Regions from separate parts of the Homo sapiens genome. Here regions 1, 2, 3 and 4 are each linked to region 5. The links are contacts of gene promoters, found by promoter capture Hi-C in blood cells and fetal thymus (Javierre and others, 2016). All regions are on one chromosome and are shown on one strand. The core of a region is centred on a gene start or on the middle of the fragment in contact, and the rest is flanking DNA. Distances in the headings are between cores, read along the strand shown.

Region 1 (2,700 bases), core at 199-2,698, 770 kb before region 5:
CTAATCCCTCATGTATTTAGATGTGAGTCCTATGAGAGGTGATTTGGTCATGAAGGTGGAACTCTAATAAATGGAATTAGTGTCATTATAAGAAGAGACACAGGGAGACAATCTCTTTTTCCACCATGTGAAGACACATTGAGAAGGTGGCTGTCTGCAAACCACGAAGAGGACACTCAACAGGAATCAAATCCACCAGTACCTTGATCTTGGACTTCCCAGCCTCCAGAACTGTGAGAAACCAAAGTCTGTTGTTTAAGCCACATAGTTTATGGTATTCTGTTTTAGCAGCCTCAAGTAAGACACTAATCCTCCTTCATTCCAAAATACTAAACCCCACAAAAAGCTTCTCCTAATTCCACTATTTCTTTTCATGGTTCAGCATTTTCCAAGTCACTCAAAAGCCAAAACTGAGAGCTGCCTCAGCCTTCTCCCTCTGTCTTGCTTCCCATAACCAACACCAAACGTAGCACCTCTTTTCCATTCCCAATTCCACTGCCCTTGCTCAGGACTCTTTTACTTTGTTCCTGGATTTCTATAATCATCTTTTAACTCATATTCTTAGAATAAGCATTTAATTTAAAAAAAATTAATCATTCAATACATAGGCACACATTATAAAAATATGAAGTATATAATATGGACAATTATAGTCCCCCTTATGACTTAAGTCTCACTCCTGGCCCAGAAAATAATTTTCCAAGTTTAATATGCATCTGAACAATAGAAACACTCAAGTGCCTACTATGTGCCAGGCGCTATTTAAAGCAATTTAAATAGATTAATTTATTTAATTTTCACATCATACCACCCTAGGGGTCATGTAAAATTATCTCTATTTTCCACACAATGAAAAAAAATGCTGAGGCGGTTAAGTATCTTGCCTGAAGTCACACAGCCAGTAAGTAACTATTCATTTACTTAAACACATATTTATATGCATATAAGATTTTACATACACATATGTATATGTTTTATGCTTTTTTCCCATTTTACACAAAAGGGATAGCAGTATGTGTATTTTCTTTGTATTTTCACTGAACAACATACCTTCTGTATCTTTCTATGTTGGTAGATATAAATTTACCTCATTCTTTTTAACTGCAATGTGTTATTACAAAGTATGATATAGCATAATCTATTTATCCAATTCACTATTGATGAATATTTATGTTGTCTTCAATTTTTCACTACTGGAAAAAAATGATGTGATGCATATCTCTGCACATAAATCAGAGCACTCATGTGTGAACAGATCTATAGCATAATTTGTAGAAATAGCACTGCTGGTATTTCTATTTTTAATTCTGATGCATTCTGCCAAAATATCTCCAAAAAGGCTGTGCCAATTTACATCCTCCCTAACAATATATAAAGGTGCCTATTTCCCTAAGCACTTGCCAACACTGAGTATTATCCATCATTTTAATTTTTTAACAATCTGATGGGTTCTTTGATGCTTTTTAACAGTCTAGGATCTCTTTGGTGCTATAACTTGTATTTCTCAAAATCCAAATGCCGTTGATCATCTTTTCAAATGTTTATTAGACAACTGTATTTTTTTTCTGAGAATTCATACTCATATCCTTTGCCCAATTTTCTCTTGGACTGTTTGTCTTTTTTATGTTTATTTGCTGACTATTTTGCATGTTAGCAATTTTGATACTTTGGCATATATATTGCAAATAAAATCTTCCCAGTCTGTGACTTACTTTTACATTTTGTCTATGGGTCTGCAATTATATCAGTTTTAAAAATTATGCAGTAAATCTTATCGGTCCTTTCCTTTATCGACTCTAGGTGTTGTGTCTTGCTTAGGAAGGTCTTTCCCACTCTAAGATTAAGTATATTTTTCGACAGTTTTTGCAAACATTTTTAGTGTTGTTTGGTTTATAAAATTTAGCACAAGTCCACCTGAAATATATTGTCGTATATGGCATAAGGAAAGGCTAAACCTATCCCATACCAACTGACAAACAGATAACCAATTATTCTAATGTCTTTAAACAGTACAACCCTCTAGTCACTGATTAGAAGTGTAGTATATAATGAAGGTAGCACTCTTCATACACTAAATTTCCAAGTTGGTTTGTAACTACACTCTCTCTTCTGCTCCATGGTTCTATTTATGTATTCCTGTGCCAAGATTTCATGTTTTAATTGCTATAATTTTAAAGTTGCTTAGGATAGCTAGAAAATCATCCTCCCCCTTAGCCCCATGTGTTTAAAAAATTATGGCTATTTACTCTTGACTTTATCTTCCAAGGGAATGTTAGAATAGGCTAGTCAAGTTCCATAAAATATCTTATTGGAATTTAGCATAGTATTGCATCAAATTTATAAATTAAAAATTACCATCTTTACCACAATGAATCTTAGAATTAATATTTAAATACCAATTCAACAACATAACGTCCTGCTACAATTTTTTTTCCAACTGACATTGGGATAAAGATAAAGCTCTTCAGTGTCTAGTTTTCAAATCCCACCTCCCAAATTTGGTTTAAACTAGCCATCTCATCAAATTGATTTCCCTTATTTTTCATCCACAAAGCTTTTCAAACCAGTATACTGATTCTATCCTAAATAATCCTTCATTCCCTGTGCTAGAGATGCCATGCAATTAGGAAAGGGATAAAGCAGTTATATTCTTTGTCTACACATCCTCACTTTGAAGTGCTAACATTCTGGGTCTATCCA
Region 2 (2,700 bases), core at 145-2,644, 850 kb before region 5:
CCAAAGTGCTGGGATTAAAGGCGTGAGCCACTGCGCCTGGCCCAAAAGCATACTTTGAATCCTACAACTGTTACATTTGGAGACTCTCATTTGGGAGAGTCCTTGGATAATCTACTCCTGAGTTTCCAAGCTAGTCCCAAACTGGATCTTTTTTAGCTAAGCAGAATAACAAAATCCCAGAATCATTAGAATAGCAAAATGGGGAGAAGATTGTAGAAGGGGAAATTTTGTTCTATCCTGGTCAAAGAGAAGAATTAATTCTTGATTTATTACCAAAATAAAAGATATTTCTAAATATCTCAGCCTATGTTTGCCAATATGCCTAGATTCCTGGCTCATCCCAGATAAGAAAAACACAGGGCAATGTTTTGGTTGGTTACTTGGAAGTAACATGTGTAGTTACTGCCATCTAAGGGCCATCTCTAAGAACTACACCTTCTAACTTAAAGCCTGGGAAAACCACCACTCCTTTCTCTTTAGTGCCTTAGAAACTACCTAACAGTTTATATCTGTATAGAATTATGAATGTACATAGTATCACTTATGTGGCTTCATTTAGCCTTCCTATAACTCATGTGTGAGAAGCCATGTCACCCTTGTTGTACACCCACAAATGCTACTAAAAGCTATTATAATTTTTGCTGCTACTGTTGTACTTTGAATCCTAAAACTGTTGCATTTGGAGACTTTCATTTTGGAGAGTCCTTGAGTGATATGCTCCTCTGTTAGCTCCTTTTTGTTCTTCAGACATAAAGCTGGGACATATCAATTGTTCTTAGTAAACAAAATCAGGAATTTAAACTAAATGTAGATAATTCAGATGGAGATGAGTGATTTATTGAATAATGTAAAAAAAATCTTTGTGTTGTGGGTAATTTATACTGTCACCTGTACTGGAGATAGAGAGGAAAGAAAATCCCTGAAGGTGGATTCTCCCTCCCTTCTGAAGAAGGAGGAGATCATCGCCTAAAGAAGGATAGTCTGGGACCACAGAAAGCTGGGGACAAGGAGAGGAATAGACAGACTGTGTGAAGGAAAAAAGGTGCTCAATATCCTGGTTTACAGTTTTCCAATGCAATAATTTATACTTTCAAGACTTCAGTAGAATGTGACAGCATTACATACTGTGTAAATGGAGTTGGGAGAAGTTAACTTTGAAATTCTACGTCCATATTCACTGCAACTGAACTGGAGACAAAGATGGGCAAGGAGAAAAGATGTTAAATGGAAGTGGTAACCCTAAGGCTGGAAGAAGAGATGCAAACAAAGGCTGGAATGGATTTGTGGAATTTGTAACAAACACTTCCTAGAAGCGATTCTCAGTAAAAGGGGGCAAAGAGACAGGTGCACTAAGTTAGCAAACAAATTCCAACAATGTGCACTGGGGGTCATATCCCAGGGATGCCATGAAAGGAAAGGCCCAGGCTTGGCAGAAAAAGGGACGGGGCAGGTGTGGAACTCCCACATTACCTTTCTCCTTCTCCTCCTGAAGACGTTTTGCCAAAAGCATATAATTCAACTTCTGAAAAATACGAATGGTCTTCATCACTGCAGACACCGCCCCAGCATTTTGAATCATCAAGGTAGCTACTTGTATTCTGTTTGCAGTATGTAGTTTGCCTGTGGCAATATTAAACTCGTCTGAAAGAAAGAACTTAAACCTATCCAGTTCCTCATCAGTGATGTTATCCAGGCCTGTTAGCAAGAGTATCTCCTTGTATTTACTCTCCATCTGACAACTTTGGGATCAGCCTATAAGGAATCCAAAACATGTAAGATTACACCACCAAAAGTGATTCTACATTCAAAATAAAGCAAGGTGAGCTATTAATATTTTTTAAAGAAAAATAAAATATTTGCAGTAGTAAAAGAGATTTGAGTAGGACATAGGTAAGAACTTCTTAAGCAAGGTGATCACTACTCCTGGGAAAGACATCTTCAGAAAGTATACAACACCTCTGGAATTCTCAGAAAACAAGATACATTAGCTGGGCGCGGTAGCTCACGCCTGTAATAATCCCAGCACTTTGGAAGGCCAAGGTGGGCGGATCACCTGCGGTCAGGAGTTTGAGACCAGACTGGCCAATATGGCAAAACCCCATCTCTACTAAAAGTACAAAAATTAGCCGAGCATGGTGGTGGGCGCCTGTAATCCCAACTACTCAGGAGGCTGAGGCAGGAGAATTATTTGAACCTGGGAGGTGGAGGTTGCAGTGAGCCAAGATCGCGCCATTGCACTCCAGCCTGGGCAACAGGAGCGAAACTTCATCTCAAAACAACAACAACAACAACAACAAAAAGGAAACAGGATACATTTTCCTGTTATTTTTAAAATAGATTTATCGAGGCATAACTGGCATACAACACGGTGCATACACTGGAAGTATACAATCTGATAAATTTTGGCATATACATATACCTGATGAAGTGCAATTAATCAATCTGTTCTTTCATGGATCATGCTTTCAGTGTCTTATTTAAGAAATCTTTTCCAATCTCAAGATTAGAAGATTTTATGTCTTCCTGTAAGAATTTTACGGTTTGATCATTTCACATTTGGCTGTATGTACTGCTTTGAGTTAATTTGTATATGATATAAGTGATGATTCAAAGTTCATTTATTTTTCATATGAATATGAATTTTCCCAGAATCATATGTTAAAAAGACTGTCATTTTTAATGATTTTTTTTTTTACCTTT
Region 3 (2,700 bases), core at 21-2,520, 800 kb before region 5:
CAGAATCCCGTCCTCTCTTTCCTTTGAGTTTTCTATCTCCATTAAACTTCTATTTGCCTTTACTGCAACCACTAATCCAGATTTTTTTGTGTGTTTAAAGTAATAAATATTCTGTACTTGGAGAATGGCCTAGTATCGTTATAGCGAGTTCACTCAGTTACTCCCACTCTTTTGACTGCTTTTGACCAAGCCAGTAGTCCTCTATCCGACTTCTTCACCTCTATGGCCTTCCATGGAAAGCCACTTGCCAGTATCCTAACCCCCTCTGCCTTTGTCCTTCCTTCCCTCCCACACCCCCTCTTTCCAGGATCTAGATACTTTAACTCTCAGCTTCCTCAGTGTTTGCACCCGGGCTGCTAATCATTGCTAGGGAAAATCACACAACTATAAATTCATGACAATAAACTTCATCTGGTTCTCCACACTGCTCCACAAACTACATTTCCTAGTCAGCTCACTCTTCATATTTTAATAATGATACTTCAAGATTTCTTCACTCCCCTTATATGTTTGATCCCTCTACATTGGGACACATTCTCAGCAAATAACCCACATTGTTACCTCACAGAAATTATCAAGTCCACTTGTCAGAAACTCATCCAATCTCCTAACTGCAGTGGATTGAACAGTGGACCCCAAAAAGACATGCCCAGGTTTTAACATTTAAAACCTATGAATGTGACCTCATTTGTAAAAAGCATCTTGCAGATGTAATTAATGTAAGGATCTTGAGATGAGATCATTGTAGATTTAGGGCGGGCCTGGAATCCAATGGCAGGCATCCTTACAGAGAAATGCAGAGAGAGATCTGAGACACAGAAAAGATGGCCAGGTAAAGACAGAGGCAGAGTTTGGAAGTATGCAGACCCAAGCTAAGAAGCTTGTTCAGAGGAGTGAAAATCTGCTTACATCTTGACCTTGATTTTGGACTTCTGGGTTCCAAAACTTTGACAGAATAAATCTCTGTAATTTCTGAGGCACCCAGTTTGGGGAAATTTGTTATGGCATCTCTAGAAAATTCATGATGCTAACTAAGCTGACAACTGCATTTGTACCTGCTCTATCCACCTTCTCTTCAGTTACAGTACTAAGGGTTGAGTCTACAGCCAGGTTGTGAACCCAACAATAGGACACTGTGGTTAATGGTGCAAGTCTCAAGCTAGATTGACTGGGTATCAATGCTGTCTCCACCACTTACTATGTGATGTTGGTTACTCAGAGTACCATTCTATGCCTCAGTTTCCTTATCTCAAAAAAACAGGATAACAATAAAAAGTACCTCTGTAGGAGAGGCTGTGTAGGAATTAAATGGAATCATGCCCTCAGAACAGTTACTGAATAAGAGGGGAACAACTTTCATTACTACTATTATCATTATCTCTGACTGCCTCCTCAAATACTAAACTATCTATTGATTACTCCTCTCTCTTGTTCCTTCAATGTTTGTCTTTATGAGATAACTTCCATGAGCATTTAAACATTCACTACCATTCCCTGTCAAACAAACCACTCCCTAAACCACACACTTCTCCCTCCAGCTCCCATCCCATCCACTAACTCCATTTCACAACAAATGTTTTAATTGTATACACTCCTTGCTTCTCCTTCCTCACTTCTCACTCACTTGGGAACTCACTAATGTCCACTTCTGTCACTCCACTGAAGCTTCCCTTGACAACCCATGTATTACCAAATCCTAAAGGAAACGTCGGCCCTTATCAGCAACATTTGACACTATGGCTCGTGCACCCTTTTTTAAAAGCATCTGTTCATTGATTCTGGCCCCAGCCCTCCTAGTTTTCTTCCTGCCTATCTGGCCAGTCTCATTTGCTCGCTTCTACCTCCTCTGATGATTCCTTAAATGATGGGTTCCTCAGGGCTTCTTCTTAGCCATTCTTCTTTTCTTATTTTACCTTCTATGAGATATTGACCACTCCCAAGACATCAATTTACTCACAACAGACTGATCATTCCTAACTTGTATTTCTGACCTAGATTTCTCTTCACAGTTCCAGGCTCATATATCTAGCTGCCCATTAGACATATCTACTGGTACATATTTGACACCTCAAATTCAACATGTCTAAAGTGGAAATACTCATCTTCCCTGGCCTTTTTGAGAATCTACTTCCACTACCTATCCCCTTTCTCATTAAAAGGCACTTCCATTCACTCATTTGCTCAAGCCAGAAAGCCGGGAATCATCCTGGGCTCTCCTTTTCCCTTTGCCTCTTACAGCTGATTTCCACTGAGTCTTATTCATTTGATATATTAAATGACCCTCAGTTTTATCCTCTTCTCTCTCTTTCTCTCCACTTCTCTAATACAAGCCAACACCATATCACATATACCCTCAAACTGTCTCCAACCTAGCTTCCCTTCAGTCTTTCTCCAAATTCTTCTGGAATAATCTTTTCAAACTGTATTCCAAACTATAAATCTAAGCCTGGTCACCACACACACACACACACACACACACACACACACACACACACACGCACGCACTCTTCAAATCTGTCATTGGCTGGTATTTTCTCTTAGGATAAAATCCTAACTCCTTAAGAAGGTTTATCAGTTCCTCCACAATCTGGCTCTCGGCATTAGATGTCAGTCTCACAGACTGCCTGGAGTGCTTTTTTTCTCTCCTTCCTTCACAGCTTAATGCCACTTCTTCCAGGAAGCCCTGATGATCCTCCAGCT
Region 4 (2,700 bases), core at 25-2,524, 710 kb before region 5:
TTAGAGGTTTCACTTGGCTACAAGCTAAAGATGATTCAATAGTGCATGTGGTAGCCAAAACACTAATGCAGACTCAACTGCATTAAGAGACAAAGTGTACAGGACGAGGGAGTGCACAGCACCACCCCTGCCCTGGACAGGCCATAGTTAGAATAGAGGGCTTGGCTCTGGGTACTGCATGTTTAAAGGCCACTAACAAATGAGAGTTCTTAAAAAGGGGGTGGCCAGGCTGGGTGCAGCTGCCACGCTTATAATCGTAACATTCTGGAAGGCTGAGGTGGGCAGATTGCTTAAGCCCAGGAGTTCCAGAGCAGTCTGGTCAACAGGATTAAACCCCATCTGAAAACACACACACACACACACACACACACACACACACACACACACACACAAATAATACAAAAATTAGCTGGGCATGGCGGTGTGTGCCCGCAGTCCCAACTACACAGGGGGCTGAGGTGGGAGGATCCCTGGATTCTGGGAGGTCGAGGCTGCAGTGAGCCGTGATCGTGTCACTGCACTCCAGCCTGGGCGACAGAGTGAGACCTTGTCTGGGAAAAAAAAAAAAAAAAGTGAAGACAAGGCAGAGGGAGCTAGTGGCCAAAATGTTGACAATCTAGAGACCATGTTACTTCTACATGGAGAGACTAAAGGTGCAAGGGGGTCAGGGGTGGGGGAGATTTACACTGGAAATGTGTAGAAAATATATAGTTGTCTTTAACTCAACAGTTGTGCTGTTCAAAAAGCATTAGGCATGTATGTAGCTTCAGAATTAGAAACACTGAATGAGAAGAAGTAACAGGGAGGCTGGTTTTGGCTGAATGTTAGGAAGAGCTTTTGACAATTCAATCTGAGCCACAGAGATGGCTGTCACATTCTGGAGGGAGGGAGGGAAGAAGTGGAGGGAGGAAGGAAATGTGTATGAGCAGACCGTGTGTTATGCACTGCTCTGTGTTCTTGTTTTACAGTGGTGAGCATATCAGATGTGGGCCTTGCCTTTGTGGTGTTTGGAGACTAAAGTGAAAGGCAGTAATTAGACACATAAACACACAAATAAATTACAAATGCTGTTATGAGATAACAGCATTTAAGAGAAATGCAAATAAAAAAATTTTCATCTCTGGTGCAAATAAGAGAAAGAAAATAAGAAGGTAAAAGCAATTTGAGTTATGAGTTCATAGCTACAGAAAGGATCCAAGCTGTGGCTTGACGGTAATAAATTATCAAAATGTCACAGAAAGCATTCCCTGAATTGGGTTAAAGCTGGGACCAGTCCAGCTGCTTTCTTTCAAATTGGCAATACATTGGAATCACCTAGAGGAAGATTTTCAATAGTCCTTGATCTAATCCAAGATACCATTAATCATAATTTTTGGAACTAGAAGACTCTGAAACTCTGTGATAATATGTTAAGTGAAAGAACTAGACTAAAATGCATAATCTTTGATTCTGGTGTCTGGGTTTCACTTGTGATGACTTTAATCTCTTTGCTTGCGTTATGGAACTAAATTCCTCTGATTCAGAGCTAGGATACCTTTTCTCTTCAGGAGACCAAACAACGAAGGGATTCCTAGCCAGATATGCACCTGACCTGAATTTTTCCAAGAGGTGGGTACCATTCCAGGCACTAGCTGCTGCAGAGAAATTGTAGCTGGTGCCTGGGGTCCCTCTAGTGGTCAGAAGCTGTCACTTCAATTCGCTTCTCTGGCCCAGGTTTGGCCAGAGAATTAGAGGGATGCAGGAGTCCCGCAAAAAGCAGGCAAAGAAACCTAAATACATGTATATTTCAGAAGGTTCTTCTTTATAATTAACACTAAAAATAGAGGTGACATAACTCACGAATTTCTTTCCAAATTTTTCCTGACCCTTTTTACCTTGTCTTGGCTAATTTAAATTTAGAGAAAGAAGGGAGTTGAGAGAGATACAACTTTTAGAAACCAGAGTAGACAGCTCCCCAGGATACCAGGCCATCAGTTAGGTATTCCAAGTTTCATTTTCATTCCCTGGCAAAATGCAAAACATATCAGAGTTGGGTGGTCAGATAGAGCACTGGGTTGAGTAGGGAGACATGAGTTGTGCATTCTGAGCCGTAGCACTTCGCAGCTTTCTAAGTTTCTAAGAGAAAAAGCAGGTAATGACACCTTCCTTGCCTGGCTCACAGGTCTGATGTAAAGATTAAATGGGATGACTGACAGATGTGGAAGCTCTGAAATCAGTTACAGCTGGGAGGAAATACACTGCAATTAGTATTAAAGAAGAGTTTGCCCTGCAGGCAATTCGAAAAATGTCCATTGCCTTTTGGGGTCACTTCACCCTAAACACAAGTTCTTACAAAGGCAGGAGCACATGGGAGCTGGACTGCTAGGAGTTAGCCTTCCAGCTCTGTCTTTGGGTGTGTTCTCAGCCCTGTGACCAAAGGACTCACGGAATCTGCCTAAAACAGTGTTTCACAGGGACCTCTAAGGAAGAATTCCCTTACAACAGGGGTCAACAGGGGGCAAGGGAAGGGAGCAGGTGATAGTAGTGATGGTAATGGGAGCTGTTGGTGGGTATTTTAATGGCATTTGGGCTGGCTTTTCTGCATTATAGTATTGTTTAGAGAAGGGCTTAAAATGCTCTTGAATTGCCACAAAATCTTTGATCATACTTAACCTTATACAGGGACCCTCAAATGACCACATTGCAACTTTTCTCACAACC
Region 5 (2,700 bases), core at 184-2,683:
TCCCCTGGGAAGGGAAAGTGTTCTGAGCTAGAGAACCCACAGCTGAAAATTCTGGAGGGAGAAGGGATGGAATGAAGAAAGGATTAGGGGCCAATCCCGGGGTGGGGGACAGGGGCAGAGGCCTTGGGGTGAGGGAGGGAGTTGCGGTTGGACAAAACCTATTTGTTGGTTCTGGAATGGTAGGGCCCTACTGGGCCCGCCCTGCCTTGGCCTCCTCTGCAGTTGTAGGTCTGCCCCTTGTAGTGGGGAGGAGAAACTGGGAGGGGGCTAGAGATAGAGAGCCATTGCTGTCTGGTGCTTTGAAGTCAATGAGAACACTGGGGGAGCCCCGTCCCAGCCGCAGGTCTTCTACATCGAATCCCACACTCCATCCCCACTCTCACCCCGTTTCTCTCTGCCCCACAGATACCAACTGCTCACAGATCTCCCAGGACACCGGCTTCAGGTAGCCCCAGGAGGCACAGGGCGCGGGGGGAGGCGGCAGTCCACCTCCGGTCCTGCAGGTCCGGCCTCCCAGCCGCCGCCCCCCACCCCCACGACCACACCCTGGGCCGTTACAACAGATGAGTCACCCACCGCCCTCCCGCCGCTGGGGTGACGCAGTGGTCTGGGCAGCCCGCCCGTCCGCCCGCGGCCACCACCGGCTTTCCCAGCAGCAGGGGGCACCCGGTGGGGGCAGCGGCGCTCGGGCAGGGTAAAAGCAGCCACCACCACCCCCACAACCTCACACAGGGCACCCCGGGGCGCAGTCAGGGCTGCAGCACCCAGACCCCCGAGGTCAGGGGACCGTCATAGAGATGACTGGAGCTTCACAGAAGGTCACCGTGCGACCCATGCAGAGCCCCCTAGCCCCAGCCCGTGACCTCAAGTCCCCAGAATAGCAAGCTAGCAGGAACAGGAATGAAAAGGGCGGCCTCGGGGACTCAGAGGGCACGCAGTGCTCACACGTGCTCCTGGAACCAGGAAGTGAAGGGTCGCGCGGGAAAGCCCAGGAGCACGAGCTGGCCCAGGGCCGGCGCCACGACCCGGGGTCACTCGGGGCCAGCCAGCTAAAGTCCGACGCCCTTTTTTCCCCTCGCCCCAGTGAGGACTCAGCGATGGAGCCCGCGGGTGGGGCTCAGTCCCTGAGTCCCTGCTCCAGACGGACGCCCTGTCTATGCATGGGCTAACCTCGCCTGACCTCATCGTCCAACAATGTCGGGTCAGGGCTTGGGGACAGGACCTGACAGCACGGGGCGGGGTAAAGTAGTCACCGGACCCTTGCCTGGTACCAGCCCTTGATCCCCGAGCTCGCTGGAGCAAGTTCAAAGCGCTGGCTTCTTGCTTTCTACACAGCACGCACATGTCCCCGACCCCCGTACCCCCGACCTGCTCACCGTTCAAGCGGGCTGGAGAGCGGCGCACTGACTCAAGGCAAGGGCTGCAGCTGCAAGTGGTGCGCCCTGCCCAGCCGGGGATTTTCAGGAGGGTCCCGCCTCAGACGGGGCGGACCCGGGGCGGGGCAAGGGCCAAGAAGGTTTAAAGGCGCCGCAGCGCAGAAGGAGGGAGGACTGCTTGAGACAGAGGGACAGTAGACCAGAGCAAGGGTTAAAGGTTCGGGGAGTCTGAATCTACAAAGGCGGCTGCAGTGGTCTCCACCCGTGAGTACCTCAGCCTCCACCGAGAGCCCGTAGACTTGTGCCCCAGTAGGAAACTTTCTGCCTAGAAAGTTAGCTAAACACTGTGGGCGTGTTTATGTAGGAAGAAGCCTCCTAGTTTAGAGGCTGGCAAGGTAAAAGGAGGCACAGGAAGGCCTTCCCCCGACCCCAACTGACTAGTGTGTGACAGGACTGGGACTTGCAGGCCGGGACAGCACCCCCACGTGATCTTGCTCACCTCTTACTTCAAGCCTGGGCAGGGACTAACAGTGAGGTCACTCTGCCCAGGGCCCTAGGGGTGTTTTCGGTGTTGGGACCCAGGGCTCAGACCTGTCTTCTCCCTGCCTTTCATCTCCTTTTCTATGACCTGGTATCTCTTCCTAAATCCTGGAGGGATCAGAGGGGGAGACCTCAGCGCGAGGAGGCTGGCTGGGGTTCTTTTGTCTCTGAGGGTGGAGGACAGCACAGTTCAGGGGTGGAGAAAGAGCCCCCCATCCTTTCAGGCTTCAGTTGAATAGAGTCCCCCGGGGTGGAGTTCTGCACACATGATAGAGTCCTCCCTTGAACCTGAGATTCCAGGATGTCAATATCCAGTCCTGTCCAACCTTTCTATTATTCTCTGTTCCCTCCCCGAGTCCTACACAGCCCTATATTCCAGTCCCACTGATTGTCAAGCATTCTCACTCTTCTGTGCCTTTACAAAGGCTATTCCTCTGCCTAGGACAGTTTCCCTTCCTTGACTGGCTCCCCACCTGCTCTACCCTTTACCTGCTGTGTGACTGTTGTGCATTCTATGCTTGAGTTCCCTGGTCTATAGAACAGAGCTAATAGTACTACCTAATTCATAGAATTGTAGAGAACTAAACAGTCCACCTATAGGGCTTAGAGCAGTGCCTGGCACATAGTGAATACTATTATTACCACCATCTATCTGTGAGGGTCCTGAGGACTCCCCCCCAATATGTGGCATTTGTCCCAGCACACGATATTAGCGTTCACTAAAGGTGGCCTTGAATGCAACATCTTCCTTTGTGCTACAATAACCAACACATAGCTTTATCAC

Evidence for each region. Contacts are between HindIII fragments. The CHiCAGO score rates a contact against its expected background, and 5 or more counts as called.
Region 1: a fragment that was not itself captured here is called in contact with the fragment with the promoter of TAGLN2 in region 5 in 4 of 17 cell types (M1 macrophages, endothelial precursors, naive CD8 T cells and 1 more); the score reaches 7.7 in M1 macrophages.
Region 2: a contact is called between a fragment that was not itself captured here and the fragment with the promoter of TAGLN2 in region 5, in 1 of 17 cell types (neutrophils). The highest score is 5.0, in neutrophils.
Region 3: a contact is called between a fragment that was not itself captured here and the fragment with the promoter of TAGLN2 in region 5, in 1 of 17 cell types (endothelial precursors). The highest score is 6.6, in endothelial precursors.
Region 4: a contact is called between a fragment that was not itself captured here and the fragment with the promoter of TAGLN2 in region 5, in 2 of 17 cell types (endothelial precursors and megakaryocytes). The highest score is 7.2, in endothelial precursors.

The regions. Positions count from the first base shown.
Region 1 is chr1:159,157,718-159,160,417 of GRCh38, forward strand. No RefSeq gene overlaps it. Among named protein-coding and RNA genes, the nearest start is that of CADM3, 13 kb to the right of the region's middle. The HindIII fragment of the contact is 2,208 bases long and covers 345-2,552 here.
Region 2 is chr1:159,071,768-159,074,467 of GRCh38, forward strand. AIM2 (absent in melanoma 2) reads right to left here. Exons shown (of 6, transcript NM_004833.3): 2 at 1,471-1,752. The coding sequence starts at 1,732. Among named protein-coding and RNA genes, the nearest start is that of AIM2, 3.6 kb to the right of the region's middle. The HindIII fragment of the contact is 3,980 bases long and covers 1-2,700 here.
Region 3 is chr1:159,128,347-159,131,046 of GRCh38, forward strand. It overlaps a transcript of AIM2 not described here. Among named protein-coding and RNA genes, the nearest start is that of TRR-TCT4-1, 12 kb to the right of the region's middle. The HindIII fragment of the contact is 785 bases long and covers 879-1,663 here.
Region 4 is chr1:159,212,678-159,215,377 of GRCh38, forward strand. No RefSeq gene overlaps it. Among named protein-coding and RNA genes, the nearest start is that of ACKR1, 9.2 kb to the left of the region's middle. The HindIII fragment of the contact is 6,582 bases long and covers 1-2,700 here.
Region 5 is chr1:159,924,074-159,926,773 of GRCh38, forward strand. It overlaps TAGLN2 (transgelin 2), which reads right to left and starts at 1,434. Exons shown (of 5, transcript NM_003564.3): 1 at 1,377-1,434. LOC124904437 (a long non-coding RNA gene) reads left to right here. Exons shown (of 2, transcript XR_007066683.1): 2 at 406-2,700. RefSeq lists enhancers at 1-1,063, 536-1,112 and a silencer at 395-804. The HindIII fragment of the contact is 4,255 bases long and covers 1-2,700 here.